Linked DNA regions of Homo sapiens: all the other regions are linked to region 1. The links are contacts of gene promoters, found by promoter capture Hi-C in human tissues and cell types (Jung and others, 2019). All regions are on one chromosome and are shown on one strand. The core of a region is centred on a gene start or on the middle of the fragment in contact, and the rest is flanking DNA. Distances in the headings are between cores, read along the strand shown. Region 1 holds the start of RPS3A (ribosomal protein S3A). Region 2 has its middle 110 kb from the start of DCLK2. Region 3 overlaps LOC105377490 (a long non-coding RNA gene). Region 4 overlaps LOC105377492 (a long non-coding RNA gene). Region 5 holds the start of LINC02273 (long intergenic non-protein coding RNA 2273). Region 6 overlaps DCLK2 (doublecortin like kinase 2). Region 7 overlaps FBXW7 (F-box and WD repeat domain containing 7).

Region 1 (2,792 bases), core at 282-2,781:
CATTCATACTATTATGAAACTAAGACTTTGAATTTATCCTCCAGGCAACTGAGATTTATGGAATTACTGAAAGATTTCAGGACCCTACTAGAGGTTTAGGAAGGTTGTCTTGGGGGGTGGGTGTAGTGGGAGGTAGGGGATGGAGGCTAGCAGGACTGGAAGGGATTGTAAGTTTAAAAGCTTGCAGGGGGCCTTGTAAGTAAGGGTTGGTTTTGGCTTGGTCACAGGGTTTTCTGCCAGAGGGGAAGTTAGAGAAGGGAACTCAACACACCACTGGCTGAGTACCAAGCCTGTATGGGCCAGATGCTTTCCGAGGGCTGCACACTTGAGCTAGCCAGCCACACCTTGCCAGGATGTGCTCTGTTAACCCCTACAGTTAAAAAAAATGGGGGAGGCGGGTTTGGATTAGTTGCAAAAATGGAAACATTTGGAGATCTCACTTTTTTTTTTTTGACGCAGTTTCACTCTTGTTGGCCAGGCAATGGCGCGATCTCGGCTCACTGCAACTTCCGCCTCCTGAGCTCAGATTCTCGTGCCTCAGCCTCCCGAGTAGCTGGGATTACAGGCACCCACCCGGCTAATTTTTTGTATGTTTAGTAGAGACGGGGTTTCACTATGTTGGCCAGGCTGGTCTCGAACTCCTGAGCTCAGGCGATCCGCCCGCCTCAGCCTCCCAAAGTGCTGGGATTACAGGCGTGAGCCACCGCGCCCGGCCAACGCCCTGCTAATTTTATCATTTTCTTGTAAAGACGGGGTCTGGCTGTGTGGCCCAGGCTAGTCTCCAATTCCTGGCTTCAGTTGATTCCCCTGCCTCAGCCTCTTAAAGTGCTGGGATTACAGGTGTGAGCCAACGAGTTCGGTCTCACTCTATTTTAAAAAAACCTTTTAATCAATATATAACAGACATATAGAAAAGGACACAAATAAGCGTAGAGCTTAGTGAATGTTCACAAAGCAACAACACCTGAGATGAACCAGCATCCACATCAACAAGCAGAACGTCGCTAGCATCTCTGGAGTGATGCTCATTTAGCCCTATGAAACCTCATGAAGCCGACCGTTTTATCACCCCCATATTACGCATGAGGAAACAAGCGTGGAGAGGTCGGTCTCAAGCAAAGCCCTGTTGAAACCGGCATTTGAATCAGATCCGCTGACTGACTCCAAAGCCAATGCTCTCAAAAAGCAGGTTTGGGGGTTAGACGGTGAGTTCAGCTTTGAACGATGTTGAGTGGGCGTCTCGTTTTACAGAAACTTACTTCCCGACGTCACAGCCACAGAAACCACAGGTAACCAGACGCCTGCACGTCAGGCCACCGACGCCTTGGTCTACACAGCGCAGCCTCCAGTGAGCCCGCGGCATGCCGCGCGGCCTCCCCACACACGATGGCGATGTCGCAACCACAGTAGAAAGAGTGGCGCTCTCTACTGTCCCGGAATTCTTGAGGCCGGAAGAATAACAGGGCAAAGGTCACGTAGACGGCGCGCCCCGCCCCCGTACGCCTAAGTTCTCGCGCGACTCCCACTTCCGCCCTTTTGGCTCTCTGACCAGCACCATGGCGGTTGGCAAGAACAAGCGCCTTACGAAAGGCGGCAAAAAGGGAGCCAAGAAGAAAGTGTAAGTCGCGACTGTCGTGGCGTCTTGCTTTTTGGGGGTCTGCTGGAATCGGCGGGCTGGTCCTAGATCGCGGCGTAGGCCGGATGGCGAGGATTCCAGTCGGATTGTGCGGGCCGTGGCGGGTTGGTGCACCCAGGAACGCGGCCTGGAGGGTCGGTGTTGAGTAGCGGCAGGTCGGCTGCCTTTCCCAGGCCTTCTGGTCCTTGCGCGCGTCGCGTTTGAGCCGGCTTGCCGGCGCGACTCGGCTGGAATGTTAGTTTTGTGGGCTCACGAGCTGCCTCAATTCTGCGAGTGTTTGATGGCACTGCGACAGCAGGAGTTGAGGAAAGCACCCTTCTATCCATTCAGGACCCGTCAATCTCGCCTTTGCTTGGTCCCGCTGGAATCTGCGAGCTCCTGCTAAGCTTTGGGGCCATGCAGTCTCTTAGTTACCAGTACATGCCATTACGTGCCAGCAAAGTTAATGAGATTGCATGTTACTCGTGCCTGTGTAGTGGAAGGACCGATGCATGTTATTCTAAGTGCCTGTGTAGTGGATGGACCGATGAGGGTGGGAAGTGGACATAACCTTTCAAAGTCTGATGCATGCAGTGAAACGTACAGTGGGAAGAGCTAGATTTATGTTTGTTCCCCTCACCTCACTGTGAGATATACTTTGGTATCAAATTGCCGGTTAGCTTTTTAAAATATTAATGGGAAATACCATTAACAGTGAAAAATACAGTAAGAATTGATCTGCAATGGAACTTAAGCATCTTCTTAAAATCCAGGGTTGATCCATTTTCTAAGAAAGATTGGTATGATGTGAAAGCACCTGCTATGTTCAATATAAGAAATATTGGAAAGACGCTCGTCACCAGGACCCAAGGAACCAGTAAGTAGCTTATTCTTGGTTTGTATTTTCCTTAAGTTGGCGCTTGTATATTGTAGCAGGCATCTTGGTCTGTTGTTGGTCCTGTGGTGGGAGACTTTAAGGAAATGTCAGCTCTTGGTTGCAGCCTTGGCACCTGTGGTGATCATTTTTAGTACAGCACTTGGAGAGAAGCAAGATGGTGCTTTTTGAATTAAGAAAATGTGCCATGGGTAGTTCTGAGCTTCAAATAAGTACTGTTGATAAGTCACTGGTGTCTGGATAGATTTGATAACAAAGGTTAAGGTCTTTATAATTTACCAT
Region 2 (2,700 bases), core at 84-2,583, 1.1 Mb before region 1:
AAAAGTGAATCTAGACACAGACCTTACACCTTTCACAAAAATTCACTCAAAATGGATTGTAGACCTAAATGCAAAATGCGAAACTATAAAACTCCTGGAATATAACATAGGAAAAAAATCTAGGTAATCTTAGATATGGCAATGAATTCTTAGATACAATAAAAAAAGGCACAGTCTATGAAAAAAAAATTGATAAGCTAGACTTCATTAAAATTTAAAACTTCTGCTCTGTGAAAAACACTGTCAAAAGAATGAGAAGACAAGACACAGACTGGGAGACAATATTTACAAAGGACATATCTGATATGTCCTGATCATATCTGATATGTCCTGATCATATCTGATAGGGACTGTCATCCAAAATACACAGAGAATCCTTAAAACTCAAAAATAAGAAAATAAACAACATGATTTAAAAAATAGACCAAGAACCTTCACAGACATCTCACCAAAGAAGACATACAGATGGCAAATATGAAAAAATACTCAACATTATATGTCATTAGAGAATTGCAAGTTAAAACAATGATATACTACTATACAGCTATTAGGATGGCCAAAATCTGAAACATTGAAAATGCCAAGTGTTGGAAAGGTTGTGGAACAACATGGATTCTCAGCCACTGCTAGTGGGAATGGAAAATGGTACAGCCACTTTGGAAGACAGGCTGACAGTCTCATACAAAACCAAACATATTCTTGTAATATGATCCAGCAACCATGCTCCTTGGTATTTACCCAAATGAATTGAAAACTTATGTCCAGACAAAAGCATTTGCACGGATGTTTATAGCAGCTTTATTCATTATTGCCAAAAACTTGGAAGCAATTAAGATGTCCTTCAGTGAGTGAATAAATAAGTAGACTATGGCACATCAGACAACAGAATATTGGAATATTATTCAATGCTAAAACGAAATAAGCATTGAATTATATTGCTATCAAGCAATACAAAACACAGAGCAAACTTAGTATGAATATTATTAAGTGAAAGAAGCCAATCTGGAAGGGCTACAGCTATGTGATTCCAACTATATGATGTTCTGGAAAAGGCAAAATTATGGAGACAGTAAAAAGATCAGTTGTTGTGAGGGGCTGAGAGAGCAGGAGGGTGGGTGAATAGGCAAAACACAGAGGATTTCCAGGGCAGTGAAGCTATTCTGAAGGACATTGTAATGTTGGATACATGTCATTGTACATTTGTCAAAATCTACAGAACGTATAACAATGCCAAGAGTAAATCCTAATGTGAATTATGGAATTTGGGTGATACTGATGTGACAATATAGGTACATCAATTGTAAAAAATGTATCACTCTGGTGTGGGATATTGATAGTGAGGGAGGCTGTACATGTGTAGGGGCAGGGAGTATATGAGAAATCTCTGTAATTTCCACTCAATTTTGCTGTGAATCTAAATCTGCTCTAAAAATAAATTCTATTACAAATAATCAAAAACTGCTGCTTGGTAAAAGCCACCGTAAACATGACAAAGTATGTAAAATATGTACAACAAACATCACAGTCAAAGGGCGAATTTTCTTATGCAAATATCAACTACTAGAAAAAAATGGGAAAAATAAACAGTGCAAAGAAAAGGAAACATAAATAGTTCTTAAATGTGAAACCTCATACACTATGATATTAAAAATTAAAATTACACTGGAGAGCTTCAAAATACATGAAGCAAAAACTGACAGACCTAAAAGAAGAAATAGGCAAATCCACAACTTATCATTGAAGACATCAACACGCACTTCACCCAGCAATTGGTAAAACAGTAGACAGAAGATTGGTAAAGATATAGACTTGAATGACATTTTCAACCAGCTTGACCTAATTGGTATTTGTAGACCACTATATCTAAAACCCACAGAATAGACACTCCTTTAAAGTGCACATAGAATACTCACAAAATAGACTACATTAGGCCATAAAACAAGTCTCAATAGATTTCAAAGGAAATTATGCCGAGTAAATTTTCTGAATACGAGGGAATCAAATTTGAAATCAAAAACAAAATGATATTTTTAAAAATCCCCAAATATTTGAAAATTAAAGAACATAGTTGTAAATCACTAATGTACCAAAGAAGAAATTACAAGGGAAATTAGAAAACATTTTTAACTGAATAAAACTGAAAACACAATATATCAAGATTTGTGATATGTAACTAAAGTAATACTTGAAGGGAAAGTTACAGCTTTAGATGCTTATACAGAATTAGAAAATAAAGAAAGTAGTAGGAAAGCCTAAAATTAAATCTCTCATTCCATCTTAAGACACTAGAAAAAGAGAAACAAATTAAGTTCGAAGTAAGCAGAATAATGAAAGTAACAGTAGAAATCATTGAAATAGAAGAGCCAAAAGCAACTTTAAAAAGTAATGAAACCAAAAAGATGACAGTTCTTTGAAACAAATCAATGAAAATTGATAAATTTCTAGCTAGACTTGTCAAGAAAAAGAGAAAACACAAGTATTCAGTATCAGAAATATTCTATAAATATTAAACAAATAATTAGGGAATACTGCAAGCAATTTATGCCAACAATTCAACAACTTAGATGAGACAGGCAAATCCCTAAAAGATACAAACTGCCAAAGCTCATACAACAGTAAAGGGAAAATCTAAACTACCCCGACACCAAAATCAGACTAACACTTTGCAAATAAATAACTAATATCCCTCACGAACATAGA
Region 3 (2,929 bases), core at 16-2,515, 1.1 Mb after region 1:
GCAAAATCATTAAAAATAAATTCACACCTAGTCACATTGTTGTGAAGCTGCAAAGCTTAAAAGCTAACAGACAAAAAAGGCAGGTCACTTACAGAGTAATGACAATTGAAATGGCAGCAGGCTTCTCATCAACATCAAGAAATGCATGATGGCAGGAAAGCAATATTTTCAGTGTTGAAAGAAACAAACTGTCAATCTACAATTCTGTACTCATCTACTTCATCATTTGAGTGAAAGCATAATAGAGACATTTTAAGAGATGCAAAAACTCAGAGAGCTACCTTTATGTTCCCTCAATAAAAGATTTAATTCTGGCTGGGCACGGTGGCTCATGCCTGTAATCCCAGCACTTTGGGAGGCCGAGGCGGGTGGATCACAAGGTCAAGAGATCGAGACCATCCTGGTCAACATGGTGAAACGCTGTTACTACTAAAAATATAAAAATTAGCTGGGTGTGGCGGTACACGCCTGTAGTCCCAGCTACACGGGAGGCTGAGGCAGAAGAATCACTTGAAACCGGGAGGTGGAGGTTGCAGTGAGCCAAGATCATGCCACTGCACTCCAGTCTGGCGACAGAGCGAGACTCTGTCTCAAAAAAATAAAATTAAATTAAAACAAATAAAAGATTTAATTCTACAAGAAGAAATAGGAATTTAAAAAAGAAAACTGTATCCATGCAACAGCAGGCAAACCTAAAGTACAAAGTAACATACTGCAGAATGATGCATATAGTATAATACTGTTAAAGTAATATTTAAACCCCTACCAAAAGACTATGTATTGTTTATTAAAATATCCACATATAGTAAAGTGGGAAACATGGACGGAAATGATACCTACCAGCTTCAGGACAATGGCAGCCACGGGAGAGGGAGCAGAGAATGAAATTGAGAGGAACACACAAAAGGCCCCAACTATATCTATAACACCTATAATTATTACTATTTGAACTCTTTTCTCTACTTAGGAACTGAATAGAGGCCAGTGATTTTTTTTGAAAGAGAATTGTTTGGAGGAAATGGTATCTCCTCACTCTCTGAAATCTTACGACCTGAAACTGAAGACCTACGCAGATTCTGATAAAATGGTGTGCATTGCTCTCTAAGCTTCCTGTCTGAACCGTCACTATCCAAGCTCACTAACTGCATAGAATCAAAGTGCACAGGATACCAAGTTTCTGTTGCTTTAAAAATATAAGGTCTTAAGCAAAATGGTAAAATGCTAACAATTTGTTAAATCTGAATGGTAGGTACTTTTGTGTTTAAATATTTCAAATATTAACAGAACAGTTTTTTAGTAATAATTTGTGGAAAGCAATGCCATGGCTTCCTTTCAGAGTCACAACACAAACAAACTGGTGTCCGTGTAGCTGACAGCACTTTGTGTTGGCCCCGCTGGCGGAGCAGCAAGGTATCGCCACTTCCTGAGCTGCTTCATCTGCGTTTGGATCCCCAGTGCCACCAGACAGAGCTGGGCTGTGCCCCCCACGTCATTCACAAATTTACAGAGTTAGGAGGAGACATTCAAAGATACATGACTATATCTGATGAAGTAAGTTCTCGGACAAGGCCAATTTTTATTTAAAAGAAAATACAGTCCCAAGAGGAAATTTACATAAGGAAGGTGACCCATACTTGGAAGCTGAAGAGGTATGCTGGACCAGGGGCAAAGAGAGCTAATACCAAGGTGAATGTGTAGAGAACCGCAGGAACAGTGATGTGAACGTGAACACGAATCAGGGGCCACCAGGACGTCTCCTGACTAGCAACTGGACCGCAGAGCCCACAGCCCACTGTGCCAGGGTGAAGGCCGGACATCCAGCCTCCAGAGACTTGAACTGGTTCTCTGGATGGTAGCAAAAAAGGGGACTGATTAATGGACAAGTCTAACTCATTCCATGATTCTCAGGAATCTTTTGGGAGAAAAACCCAAGAGAAGTCTAAACTTCCTGCTGATTTGACAGGTGGGGCCTGGACTTTTGTGATTTGGGTATTTAAGAGGAATTGTTATCTTATATTGGAGATACAGATTGCTGACGGCAAGGCTTTGGGCTACTGACTTTATCCTCATCATTTGTACACTAGGCAAAGAAGAAGCAGAGGTAGAAAGATTTCAAAACAGCAGCCTATCCCCAAGCAATTTTGCAGTCAGTGAGGCCTTTCCTGACCACTCTGTTTAATATTGTATTCCTCCCACCACGTACTCTGGACCTGTCTCCCAGCTTTATTTGCCTTAGTAGAAGGATTACCTTAATGTTTAAAGAATTATTTAGTATTTTTTCTGTCTCTCCAACTAGGATGTAAGCTCCATGGAGTCAGAAATTATCTGTTTTGTTCACTGCTGGTCTGTAAGTTTCAGAGCAGTGCCTGGCACAAAATAGAAGCTTAGTAAACATTTATTGAATGAATGACCCAACCTGTGTTTGGCTTTGGAGTGTGCTCATACATAACACATACGTCACAAACACTCTCAGTGAGATAAAATTTATGGAAGACCATTGATTTAGACTGAGCTCCTGCACTAAACCCTGACAAACCAATCTAAAGTGAAGTCACTCATGCTAAGGCCCATATCACCAAACTGAAACCTAAGCTGTTTACCTTTAAGATCTGGCCTTCTGAGAAATCAGGAGAGACAGTAGCCTAACACCCAAATAGGAACGTTTACCAAGAAACAAGAGATTCACAGCAACCCATCAAAAGGGGCCCAGTCAACTGAGCTTGTGATAAGGGAGCCCCGTCTGCTTTAACCCACACAAGGAGAGTAACCTGAAGTGACCTGATGTTAACCAATCTGCTTTTTGCAGTAGGCTATCTCCCCGTTCCTGCTCAAGTTGCCTTACAGAAACCCACTCTTCTGCCTCACCCAGTGGAGCTCCAGTCTGTTTTGTAGACTGGATGCTGCCCAGTTCATGAATCACTAATAAAAG
Region 4 (2,700 bases), core at 12-2,511, 1.2 Mb after region 1:
GCAACAGCAAGATACACATCTAGGCCCTACAGGAACCATGCTGGGGCCGGAATGGCATTGAAAATGGTGACAGCCACCCTCTGCCTGCTGTCCCTTCTCTGCATCTTTCTCACCACACACTTCACACTCATCTTTCCACCAAGAGCTTCCCCTGCTTCCTCAGGTTTCTATCTGGGCTGGCCAGGTCTCTGACTGTGGTAACAACTTTTGGTCCCCCACAGTGAGCTCCAGAGTAGTAATTCCAGGTTCCTGGGAGAGAGTTTTAATAGGCTCAGTGCACTTGTTCAGGTATCAGTGTGATTTATTCCAACAAGGAGACCCCAAATCCACAGTTGGCTTCAACCAGATCCATGTTTGTTTCTCTCCTGCCAAAGTCTACACTGCCTGCAGCCCTCCTCTGCAAAGTCGCCAGGGCTCTAGGCTCCTTCCATCTTGTTGTTCTGTCATTCTTAGGATGAGGACTTTGCCCCCATGGTCCACAGGGCTCACCACCACATCCACTCCACAGGAGCAGAATAGAAGAAAGGCATGGCCCTGAAATCGCATGCATCATTTCCATTCCTGTGGCCAGAATTTACCCACAGGACTAAGCCTAGCTTCAAGGGAGCTCAGAATATATCATCTTTGCTAGGCAGTCAACTGGGGAGGGGGCACCAGCCATCTCTGACATAGGCAGCCTAGTTAGTTGTGGTGGTAAGAGGCAGTAAGTTCTGAAAGCGGGCAGCAAGATAGAGCCTTGGCAGCCTGGGGGCTCCCCTCCCGCAGGGCCCAGGTAGAGGGCAAGCCCACCCTGTGCTGAATCCATGCTGTGCCATGCACTATGGGACCTCTGACTTGTGAGAGCTCTGAGAGAAACACTTAGCGAAGGCACCTAGGAGACAGGACCTGCAGGGCCAGCAGCGTGGGGCACCTCGGGAGTCTCTCCTCAGAGACCCCTTTTATCTGTCGGGGTCAAGGGAAGTCAATTAAATTTAGGTGTGGGAGGGAGAGAAGAGAGAAAGCCAGAGGAGAAAGGGAACAGGAGATAATTGACAGTCACCAAGTTTATCTGAAAGGACTCTTACGTGAGTTCTAAGGAAACGTCTTACTCTCAGTTTCCTGAAGTAGCTAAAAACTTCCTGGGAGGGTGATGATCATGAGGCTGATTTGTGATAAAGACTATAAAGCAATTGGGGTGTGTCTAGCACACAGGAGACACTCAACAAATGGCAGAGTTTGGTTTAGATTCGAGGGCACTAAAGTGGAGCGGTTCAGTTCAGAGGTGACCCTCTGCATGCTGCATAGTCCAAACACATGGACAGTCTTTCTTTGCCTTTCCCAGTTCGTGGGGAAGTGGCTCTCCAGTTTTAGAGTCCACTCCCAGAGATTTCGCTTTTGTTAGGCCTAGGGCGGGGCCCAGGGATCTGCATTTTCATGCCGGGAAGTCTGGGGCAAATAGTTGAAAGGCTGAACTTGGAGAAATACTGCAGAAGGGGAAATGTCCTTCTCTGAGGTGGACTCTCTTCATTGACACAGTCATCTCCTACACAACGATCAGCATTGTGCCCCTTGGGGTACAACTTCTCTAATTCCCTTTCTTGTGATGTTCCTGGGGATGGAAGATGAGATGGGAGTTGTGGGAGGAAAGGCAAGGTGATGATGGGAGTTCATTTGGTCAGAAAAGCTTATCTAGAACATCCACAAGCCCAATAATGACCTCCCCCTCAAGCCTCCATTAGAAAACCAGCGGGCTATTTGGGCAGCATCTGAGGTCACCTCTAGGACCAGAATGTGCAGACCCATTGGAGACACTGAAACACTATTAATAGTGGGGTGGGCGGCGCCAAGCTCAGGGAGTGTGAAATGCTTCTTCCAGGAGCACACAAGTCCTCTGAGAGCCCAGGTCACCTCAGACTTGAATGTAGTCATCCTGGCTGACCCCCCAGACATAGCTGCTGGTGCTCAGGGCAAAGAGCGGGCCTGGCCACAGAAGGCCCAAGTGCAGCCCTCCGCAAAGCCCTTCCCTCTGGCGGGTCAGACACAGAGGCCTCCGTTCTCTCTCAATCACATTTATCGACTTTTTTTCTTATTACTAGAATAGATATACAATCATCATAAGAAGTGTTTTTTGAAGATACGGAAAGGCACAAAAGAAAAACAAAAGCCACCTGTAATCCTACCATCCAGAAATAACCATTATTAACATTTTAGAGTAACACACTACTAGTTTTTCCTATGCATATATTTGCATAAAATTGCATACATCAAATTTGGATTTTACCAAATCCTCTCTTCTGTAATCTGCATGCTTCACTTAACAGAATATACAATATTTTCCCACATCATGAAATGTTCTTTGACAGCCTCATTTTTTTCCATCTCTTATTTTTTAATTTAATTTTAAGTTCCATGACACATGTGTAGGATATGCAAGTTTGTTACATAGGTAGACGTGTGCTATGGTGGTTTGCTGTACCTATTAACCCATCACTTAGGTATTAAGCCAGCATGCATTAGCTAATTTTCCGGATGCTCTCCCTCCCCCTGCACCTGCAGGCCCCAGTGTGTGTTTTTCCTCTCCCTGTGTCCATGTATTCTCATTGTTCAGCTCCCACTTGTAAGTGAGAAGATGCCGTGTTTGGTTTTCTGTTCCTGCATTAGTTTGCTGAAGATAATGGCTTCCAGGTCCATCCATGTGCCTGCAAAGGACATGATCTCATT
Region 5 (2,700 bases), core at 22-2,521, 1.0 Mb after region 1:
CCCACCCCAGATCTCACTGGGGGCATTAGATCCCCTAGGGCCTTCTTCAGACCCCTAAGATTTATCACTGGCTTCAGAGAGATGAACCAATTCAATTAGCTTTTCCATTCTCCCAGCTTATTTTCCAGGAGCGGAGTGTGGCGCTCATTGTCGCAGTCGAACAAGCTAAAGAGCCTGCAAGGCCCAATACTGACTCCAGGAGATACTGGGAAGGGCTTGCTAGTGATGGAACCTGGCTATGAATCTTGCTTTCCTGATTCTAAAATTGACTCTGCCTGAAGGTGCTGCTGAGGTGCCCTGGGTACTTCTCCAGCGGTGGGTAGAGGAGTGACAGAGGGAGGAGTGCCCCTGACACACAAACAATTTCAGGAAGACAGTTTCCCTATTATCTATTATATAGATTGGGGGGTGCATTCATTTATTCATTCAATATTTATTGAACTTCCACGTATTCCAGGCACTGTCTAGGCGTCTGGGCCAGGATAGAGAGGGGAGTAAGATAGACCTTTCCTTGCTGTTACAGAACTTACGTCTTTGTTGGAGAGACAGGAAATAAACAAGTAAGTTAAAAACCCACAATTTGGGGTAGAGGCCCACAGGTCAGGTTCTGCAGGAAGTAGACTCTGACAAAGAGATTTGCAGGAGGTTTTTGGGGCGTGATCTCAGGAGCAACAAGTGTGAAGGGTGAGGGACGCAGGTCGGACAGATGGAAAAGTTGCTTTCTGTCTTCCTCCTGAGGAGCTTTGCAGCTTGGGACAACAAGCAGTGTTGTCCTAATTAAGATTGGAGGACTGGGCATTTGCACTCCCATGTGACCAGCCTTTGGATGCAAGCTGCCTCCAGGAAGTGGGTGTACATGTGGGTGGAGCAGCTTCCTCTGACAGAGGAAATGACACACCTCTGACACTTTGCAATGCTTGGAAAGTGTCTCAGGTGTGAGTTGGTGGAGCCTGCACTCCCAGCAGCTAAGGTGACAAGCGTTTTTCGGTTCTGCCAGGGGATCTGAGTGGCACACAACAACATCCACTATGAAATGTGGTGTGTGCTGGGTGGGGGCTGACTGAGGAGCTCGAGAGTAGGAGTGAGGCAGGCTATTTTAAAGAGGTGGCAAGGGAAGGCCTCTCTGAGCAAAGGCAGAGACTTTAGGCAAAGACTTGATTGGTGTGAGGAAGTGAGCCATTCAAAGTCAAGGGCACCAGAGGTTCTAAGCAGAGGAAACAGCAAATGCAAAGCAGAGAACAAGCTTGGCACATTTGAGAACCAACAATAAGTCCAGTGTGTCTGGAGCCACAGGAGTCAAGGAGACAGCAGCTGGCAGTTCAGCCAATGGGCTACCAGGAAACCAGATGGCAGAGAGCCTGGTAGACCACGGTAAGGAGTTTGCAGTTTAAGAGTGATGGGAGATGTTGGAGCACTTTGAACAGGGTGAAAGTCACCATCTGATCTACATTTTAAACGTATTATTTCACTAAATAGAGAAATAATACGTTTAAAATGGTAGTAATTGGTCATTGTTATATTGTCATTAACAAGTAGAGATTCTAAAGTCTAGACTTCTAAAAACAATTTTAAGTGAAGCAAATGTTGCTCCATCTGACAATTATGTAAGCCAGCCATACCTGTTCTTTCCCTGTAGGTAGAAGCATATGGGAAACTGCATTCCGATCCAGGGAAGTATAGGAAGCAGTAATAAAAGTGGGAAGACCTATTATAAGTTCGTTGCAGTCATCCAGGTAAGAGGGGATACTGGCTGAAAACAAGGTTTCAGCTATGTGGGCCCTAGCTTGGAAGGGATGGGATTCTACATATGTTTTGTAGCTGGAAGCAGGAGTTTGAGGCTAAGAGATGACCTGAGAATAGAATGATTTTAGGTGTTAGGCCTGAGAGATGAGGGCACATTAGGGAGGAGCATGTGCAGCGGGGGCAGGGCATCCAGAATGCTCTTTGGACATCTTATATTTTAAGTGCCTGTCAGACACCCAAGTAGAGACGCCTGATGTGAAGACATGAATATCTGCAGCTTGAGGTCCTTCGTAAGATCATTTGAAAATAAGAGTTGTGCTACTAAAATAAAATGTGCAAAAAAAAAAAAAAGAGAGAGAGAGAGAAGAAAAAAAGAAAATCGCTGCATCATGCTGTCTTGTGTATAGTTGAATTTTCACATGCTGTGGAAATTCAGCCAGAGATCCTGTGGAAAAATACTGAAAGGACCCTTGGATCACTGATTCTAAGTTTGAAAAAGGGCTGGGCTGGCTGCTTCTAAGCTTGGCTGTCTTGCTTCTATGGGGCAAGTTCGGGAATCTTTTTTTTTTTTTTTTTTTTGTAATTGAGGCAATTGACTTTGTCAGCAAGCTAAGAGTGGATTTCTCTCATAGGGGTGAATTCACATTGATCAATGTAACCAGGCTCCTAAGAGACTGATAAAGCAGAAACTGTTTACCTTGAAAAATATAGTCATCTCACAATTATGTAAGCCAGTCATGCCTGTTCGTTCCCTGTAGATCAAAGCATATGGGAAACTGCATTCCAATCCAGGGATTTCCCAGTGAGTTAGAATTAGACAAAGGGGTTGAACCGAATAGCTCAAACATGTTAAGTTATCAACATACTAAAATCCTGAGCTAATTGGTAAGGAGCCTGCTCCTGGAGCCTCCTGTCTGCTCCTACTCACTGCCCTTCTCATATCAGGGACCTCACAGA
Region 6 (2,700 bases), core at 97-2,596, 1.0 Mb before region 1:
AGGCCCAGACATGGGGCTCTTTACTACTCTAATCCGGGAAGAAACGAGAGAAGGCAGGGTAGAAGGAGTTGGTTTCCAGAGGGGTTTAGACCAAAGTCAACCGTTCTGCCAATTTTGTTGAATGTGGGGGAAGGGCAGTGAAGAAGGAAGCTTGGTTTTTGCTTAGATGACTGAACAGTGGTTATTCCGTTCAATACTTTGGGGACTTTAGGAAGAGGAGAGTGTGAGATCAGGGTGGCAGTAATGGAGAGTGAAATTCGTTTTAGATATGTAGCATGTGAGATATTCATAGATATCTAGAGAGGGATATTCTGTTAGTGGGTTGAACTCGAGAAAGATCTAGGCCAGAAATGTCATCGATGTTTGATTCCTCAGAGTGTAGATGGTGGTTGAAGCCATGGATAAAGATGCAGCTGCCCAGAGAAAGTCTAAGGAGGATGAGGGATGCCTGGGTGGGTGTGGAAAGAGGATCCTGAAAAGCAGACTGAGAAGGAGCAACCTAAGAAATGTGAGGTAAAGGTAAGGGAGATCATAGATGCTAGGGAAAAAAGGATTTGCATGAAGAGGATTAGGACTGGTGTCCAGTGCCCTCAGAAGACACTGAAGACACTGAGTGAAATTAGACAGAAAATGTGCTTTGCATTTGGCAGTTAGGTAAGAAGTACTTGGGAACTGGGGCGAGCCACATTTCAGCTAGCAGAGCCCAGGGAGCACAAGTGATGCTCCAGTGGCTTAAAAGCAAAGAGTGGGCGATGAAGTGGAAAAACAGATGAGGACTGGCAGTGAATGGAAGCCAAAAGCACATTAGGTAGAGTAGAGTGAATGGGGTGGGGCTGGGCGGTTCATGTGTTTAAGGTGGGACACACTTGTGTATAATCCTATAAAGAGGGCTGGAGAGGAGAGAAAGAATGGCTCTGAAACCTCAGCATGGGAGGAGAGAAGGACCCACGTCCTGTTAGAGGGATTTAACTTTGAATAGGAGGAGAGCACTCTGTCACTGAAAGGAAAAGGACGTGCGAAAAATGGGCACAGATGGAAATAAATGTGTAAGAATGAAGGTTTGCAGAGAGTGAGAAATTGGAAATTTCTAGCCTTTTTTTTTTTTTTTTTGAGACAGAGTCCCGCCCACTCTGTCACCCAGGCTGGAGTGCTGTGGTACTGCAACCTCCGCCTTCTGGGTTCAAGCGATTCTAGTGTTTCAGCCTCCGGGTAGCTGGGATTACAGGCATGCACCACCACTTGTGGCTAATTTTTGTATTTTTTAGTAGAGACAGGGTTTTACCATGTTGGTGAGGCTGGCCTGGAACTCCTGGCCTGAAATGATCTGCCCACCTTGGCCTCCCAAAATGCTGGGATTACAGGCATGAGCTACCGTGCCTGGCTGGAATTACCTAGCTTTTAATGACCTCTTTCTTCTTGAATAAGAGGCAGTTCATTTGGTTGAGTAAGGATGAAAGTTAACGGCCTTCTAAACATATACCCAACCAAGTTGTATTACATAATTGTAAACACTGAGTCAACCTGCTATATATGCAGTAATGCAAAGTGTCTTTGAATGGACATCAAAGGTAAAAAGCCATAGCTGTGCCTCTGGAAAGAGTCTTATAGGATATTGAAGGAATGCTTTCTGTTCCATTACCATGCCTGAAAACAGTTAAGTTTTATAACCACCTTATGCTTCTGTTTTTCCTCTTTCTATACAGAAACCAAAACCCTCTTTGTATATAGTACTCATATGATCGGGATTTGCAAAATGATTTCCCCTAAATTTTTTACAGTTTTATGGCCAAAGAACTTGAAAGAGAGAGAAGGCAGGGAAAGGAGAATGAATATGGATATATGTATCTAAATTCCCTTTAGCCAAAGACCACTGGGCACACACATGTAGTTGAACAAGTTGGGTTTATTACTTGTTCCAATGAAGAAGAACACACCTTATAAGATACCATGTGGTGTCTTAGTAAGAGGGTGTTAGAACCTATCATAGCATTTGGGCTCTGGCTGATTAATATTAGGAAGGATCTAAGGAAACGGGGGCTCACTCTGTCTTGGGTGCTGTCAGAAGGCAGGACAATCCTATGATTGGATACCTCTATAAATCTTAGTTATAGGGAGGGCAGACTAGATTGAGGAAAAAACTACGGTGGTAAAGAAATGGCAGTCACTCACTTAGTGCAAGAGGGGGATGTTTGGTATTGTGGATTGCACAGTGACCTTGTTTTTGTGTCACTTTATCATAAAGTCTTAGAGTGACTTCGTATGATATAGTCTGTGAGATTATGTCTAACAGAAGAACAAAATGGCTTGACTCTGAGTGACAGACCAGCTTGTAATAACATTGAAGTCTAGCTATGAGTCAGCCCAGTTCTGGGACTGCTTTATCTACTTATGAAAAAAATACATATGCGTGGTCCTAGTTGAACTCTAATTTTTATTTTGTTAATTTTTTATTTCAATAGCTTTTGGGGTACGAGTGGTTTATGGTTACATGGGTGAATTGTCTAGTGGTGAAGTCTGAGATTTTAGTGCACCTGTCACTTTGTTTTGGTGAGGGCAGTTTTAACATACGTTGGCAAGAGTTTAACAAAGTCTCTCATACTGTGGGGTTTTTTCTTTTTCTTTTTTTTTTTTTTTTGGCAGAGTCTCATTCTTGTCACCCAGGCTGGAGTGCAGTGGCACGGTCTTGGCTAACTGCAATCT
Region 7 (2,712 bases), core at 45-2,544, 1.3 Mb after region 1:
CTGATGGAGATGTACATGGAGATTCATGTTGTTTTCATGCCTAATAATACAATACCCATTCTGCAGCCCATTAATCAAGGGTCATTTCTACTTTCCAGTCTTGTTTTAGAAATACATTAGCTGTTTTATATATATACATAGTGAATCCTCTGATGGATCTGGGCAAAGTAAATTGAAAACCTTTTGAGAAGGATAACTGCACTCCAGATACCATTAAGAATATCTGTGTTTCACAGAAGGAGGTCAAAATATCAACATCAACAGGAGTTTGGAAGAAGTTGATTCCAACCCTCGTGGATGACTTTGAGGGGTTCAAGACTTCAGTGGAGGGCTACTCAGGAGGCTGAGGCAGAAGAATCACTTGAACCCGGCAGGCGCAAGTTGCAGTGAGCTGACTGAGATCGTGCCACTGCACTCCAGCCTGGGAGACAGAGCCAGACTCCATCTCAAAAAAAAAAAAAATTCAGTGGCGGAAGTCACTGCAGGCGCGTAGAAATAGCAAGAGAACTAGAATTAGAACTGGAGTTTGACAATGTGACTAAACTGTTGCAATCTCATAATAAAACTTGAATGGATAAGGTGTTGTTTCTTCTGAATGAGCAAGGAAAGTAGTTTCCTGAGACAAAGTTAAACAATTTAGAATACTGCATACACTTAATTGATAAACCAGCGGCAGGATTTGAAAGGATTGCCTCCAGTTTTGAAAGAAGTTCTACTCTGCATAAAATGCTATCAAACAGCATCACACGCTACAGAGAAATCGTTCATGACAGGAAGAGTCAATCAATGCAGCAAACTTCATTGTTATTTTAAGAAACTGACACAGCCATTCCAACCCTCAGCAACATCACTCTATCAGTCAGCAGCCATCAACACTGAGGCAAGACTACAGCAGTAAAATGATCGTGACTCCCTGAAGGCTCAGGTGATTGTTAGCATTTTTTAGCAATCAAGTATTTTTTAGCCAGGCGCGATGGCTCACGCTTGTAATCTCAGCACTTTGGGAGGCAGAGGTGGGCAGATCACTTGAGGTCAGGAGTTCAAGACCAGCCTGGCCAACATGGTGAAACCCGGTCTCTACTAAAAATATAAAATTAGCCGGGTGTGGTGGCGGGTGCCTGTAATCCCAGCTACTTGGAAGGCAGAGGCAAGAGAATCGCTTGAACCTGAGAGGCGGAGGTTACAGCGAGCCAATACCATACCACTGCACTCCAGCCTGGGCAACAGAGCAAGACTGTCTCAATAAATAAATAAATAGTAAAGTATTTTTTAGTTAAGGTATGCACACTTTTTAGACAGAATGCTATTGCATACTTAATAGGCTACAATGCCATGTAAATATAACTTTATATGCACTGGGGAAACAATAAATTCTTGTGACTAACTTTATTATGATATTTGCTTAATTGTAGTGGTCTAGAACCAAATCCATGGTATCTTCAAAGTATTAATTCTAACAAAAAGTGGCCAGGCACGGTGGCTCATGCCTGTAATCTCAGCACTTTGGGAGGCCAAGCCAGGTGGATCACTTGAGGTCAGGAGTTCGAGACCAACTTGGCCAACATGGTGAAACACTGTCTCTACTAAAAACATAAAAATTAGCCAGGAGTGGCACACACCTGTAATCTCAGCTACTCAGGAGGCTGAGGAACGAGAATCACTTGAACCCCAGAGGCAAAAGTTGCAGTGAGCCGAGATTACATCACTGCACTCGAGCCTGGGTGACAGACTGAGACTCTGTCTCAAAAAAACAAAAACACTCTATTTTAAAACATAAAGCTATACAAGTAAAGTAAGGGACAAATGGTACTGGTAAACCTACTCCATCACCCAGTACTACCCTACCCACATGGGAGATGTGCGTGGACTTATTTAACAGCACAGAAAAAATATACAAACATGCACACCCACTGCTACTTCATGTCAATATAGTAGCAGCAATGATAAAACAATGGGACAACTACAGACAACAGTCTACTTTCCTATTAAGACATGTTCTTGTAGTGTACATTAGTTCATTCATTCATCATTTGGGCGATGAGGTCAGTATAATGTGAATGTCACTTTAGTCCAAAATTTTCCCCAGCATAGTAAAGTTTTAAAGCCAGCAGGGACAAGCTTTCTCACAAAGACAGAGCTTAAGCAATACATGATGACCTTAAGAAAAAAACTAGAAATCCAGAAGAGGGTAACCAGAGGCTAGTTAATGGCTTTAAACTGCTAGGCATTCCACAATGTTAAAACCATCTGGTCAAGCTGTGAGTACAGATAGAAAATCCATGACAATATTTTTCCCACGTTAATTTTTTTTTTTAAGGGGTGAGAGGCAACTGATAAAAACTACACCCTGGATCAGATTTACTAGTTTTCACAATTTCATCATAAGTAGAAATGAATGTTCTCGAGGACCTACATTTCAAAGGAGAAAGCATAAATCCTAGAACTTAGAACTAACTGGGGTAAATATTTAGCTATATAATATTTTTATTAGAATGGGTACTGGTTTCGTTACTACAGAGATTACAAGTTTACACAGGAACAAGCCACTCAGAAACCGATTTTCAGGGCCCGATTTTGCAGAGCTTCAGGTTTTCTTCAGAGACAACTATACTGTTATATAACAAAAGTAACTGCCTGTACTATGGTTATTTAAAGAAGTCCACGGTGGCTCAGGCCTGTAATCCCAGCACTTCGGGAGGCTGAGGCGGGCCG

Evidence for each region. The method cuts DNA at HindIII sites, captures the fragments that hold promoters and counts their contacts. A contact is called where the count stands out against the background at its distance.
Region 2: a fragment that was not itself captured here is called in contact with the fragment with the promoter of RPS3A in region 1 in 1 of the 25 tissues and cell types used here (lymphoblastoid cells).
Region 3: a contact is called between a fragment that was not itself captured here and the fragment with the promoter of RPS3A in region 1, in 1 of the 25 tissues and cell types used here (dorsolateral prefrontal cortex).
Region 4: a contact is called between a fragment that was not itself captured here and the fragment with the promoter of RPS3A in region 1, in 1 of the 25 tissues and cell types used here (mesenchymal stem cells).
Region 5: a fragment that was not itself captured here is called in contact with the fragment with the promoter of RPS3A in region 1 in 1 of the 25 tissues and cell types used here (dorsolateral prefrontal cortex).
Region 6: a contact is called between a fragment that was not itself captured here and the fragment with the promoter of RPS3A in region 1, in 1 of the 25 tissues and cell types used here (dorsolateral prefrontal cortex).
Region 7: a fragment that was not itself captured here is called in contact with the fragment with the promoter of RPS3A in region 1 in 1 of the 25 tissues and cell types used here (spleen).

What each region holds. Positions count from the first base shown.
Region 1 is chr4:151,098,097-151,100,888 of GRCh38, forward strand. RPS3A (ribosomal protein S3A) reads left to right here and starts at 1,532. Exons shown (of 6, transcript NM_001006.5): 1 at 1,532-1,618; 2 at 2,389-2,492. The coding sequence starts at 1,557. RefSeq lists enhancers at 442-511, 789-1,988, 1,287-1,871, 1,292-1,851, 1,872-2,455. The HindIII fragment of the contact is 5,511 bases long and covers 1-2,792 here.
Region 2 is chr4:149,971,873-149,974,572 of GRCh38, forward strand. No RefSeq gene overlaps it. Among named protein-coding and RNA genes, the nearest start is that of DCLK2, 110 kb to the right of the region's middle. The HindIII fragment of the contact is 6,557 bases long and covers 1-2,700 here.
Region 3 is chr4:152,220,915-152,223,843 of GRCh38, forward strand. All of the region lies in intron 2 of LOC105377490 (a long non-coding RNA gene), which reads right to left. Among named protein-coding and RNA genes, the nearest start is that of FBXW7-AS1, 120 kb to the right of the region's middle. The HindIII fragment of the contact is 3,696 bases long and covers 1-2,929 here.
Region 4 is chr4:152,280,910-152,283,609 of GRCh38, forward strand. LOC105377492 (a long non-coding RNA gene) reads right to left here. Exons shown (of 4, transcript XR_939354.3): 4 at 2,658-2,700. Among named protein-coding and RNA genes, the nearest start is that of FBXW7-AS1, 55 kb to the right of the region's middle. The HindIII fragment of the contact is 3,498 bases long and covers 1-2,700 here.
Region 5 is chr4:152,099,848-152,102,547 of GRCh38, forward strand. It overlaps LINC02273 (long intergenic non-protein coding RNA 2273), which reads left to right and starts at 906. Exons shown (of 3, transcript NR_121628.1): 1 at 906-970; 2 at 1,637-1,733. RefSeq lists enhancers at 563-1,063, 670-964, 1,064-1,564, 1,859-2,700. The HindIII fragment of the contact is 4,185 bases long and covers 1-2,700 here.
Region 6 is chr4:150,096,080-150,098,779 of GRCh38, forward strand. All of the region lies in intron 1 of DCLK2 (doublecortin like kinase 2), which reads left to right. Among named protein-coding and RNA genes, the nearest start is that of DCLK2, 19 kb to the left of the region's middle. The HindIII fragment of the contact is 4,883 bases long and covers 1-2,700 here.
Region 7 is chr4:152,436,931-152,439,642 of GRCh38, forward strand. The region is part of intron 2 of FBXW7 (F-box and WD repeat domain containing 7); the gene reads right to left. Among named protein-coding and RNA genes, the nearest start is that of MIR3140, 51 kb to the right of the region's middle. The HindIII fragment of the contact is 3,770 bases long and covers 1-2,712 here.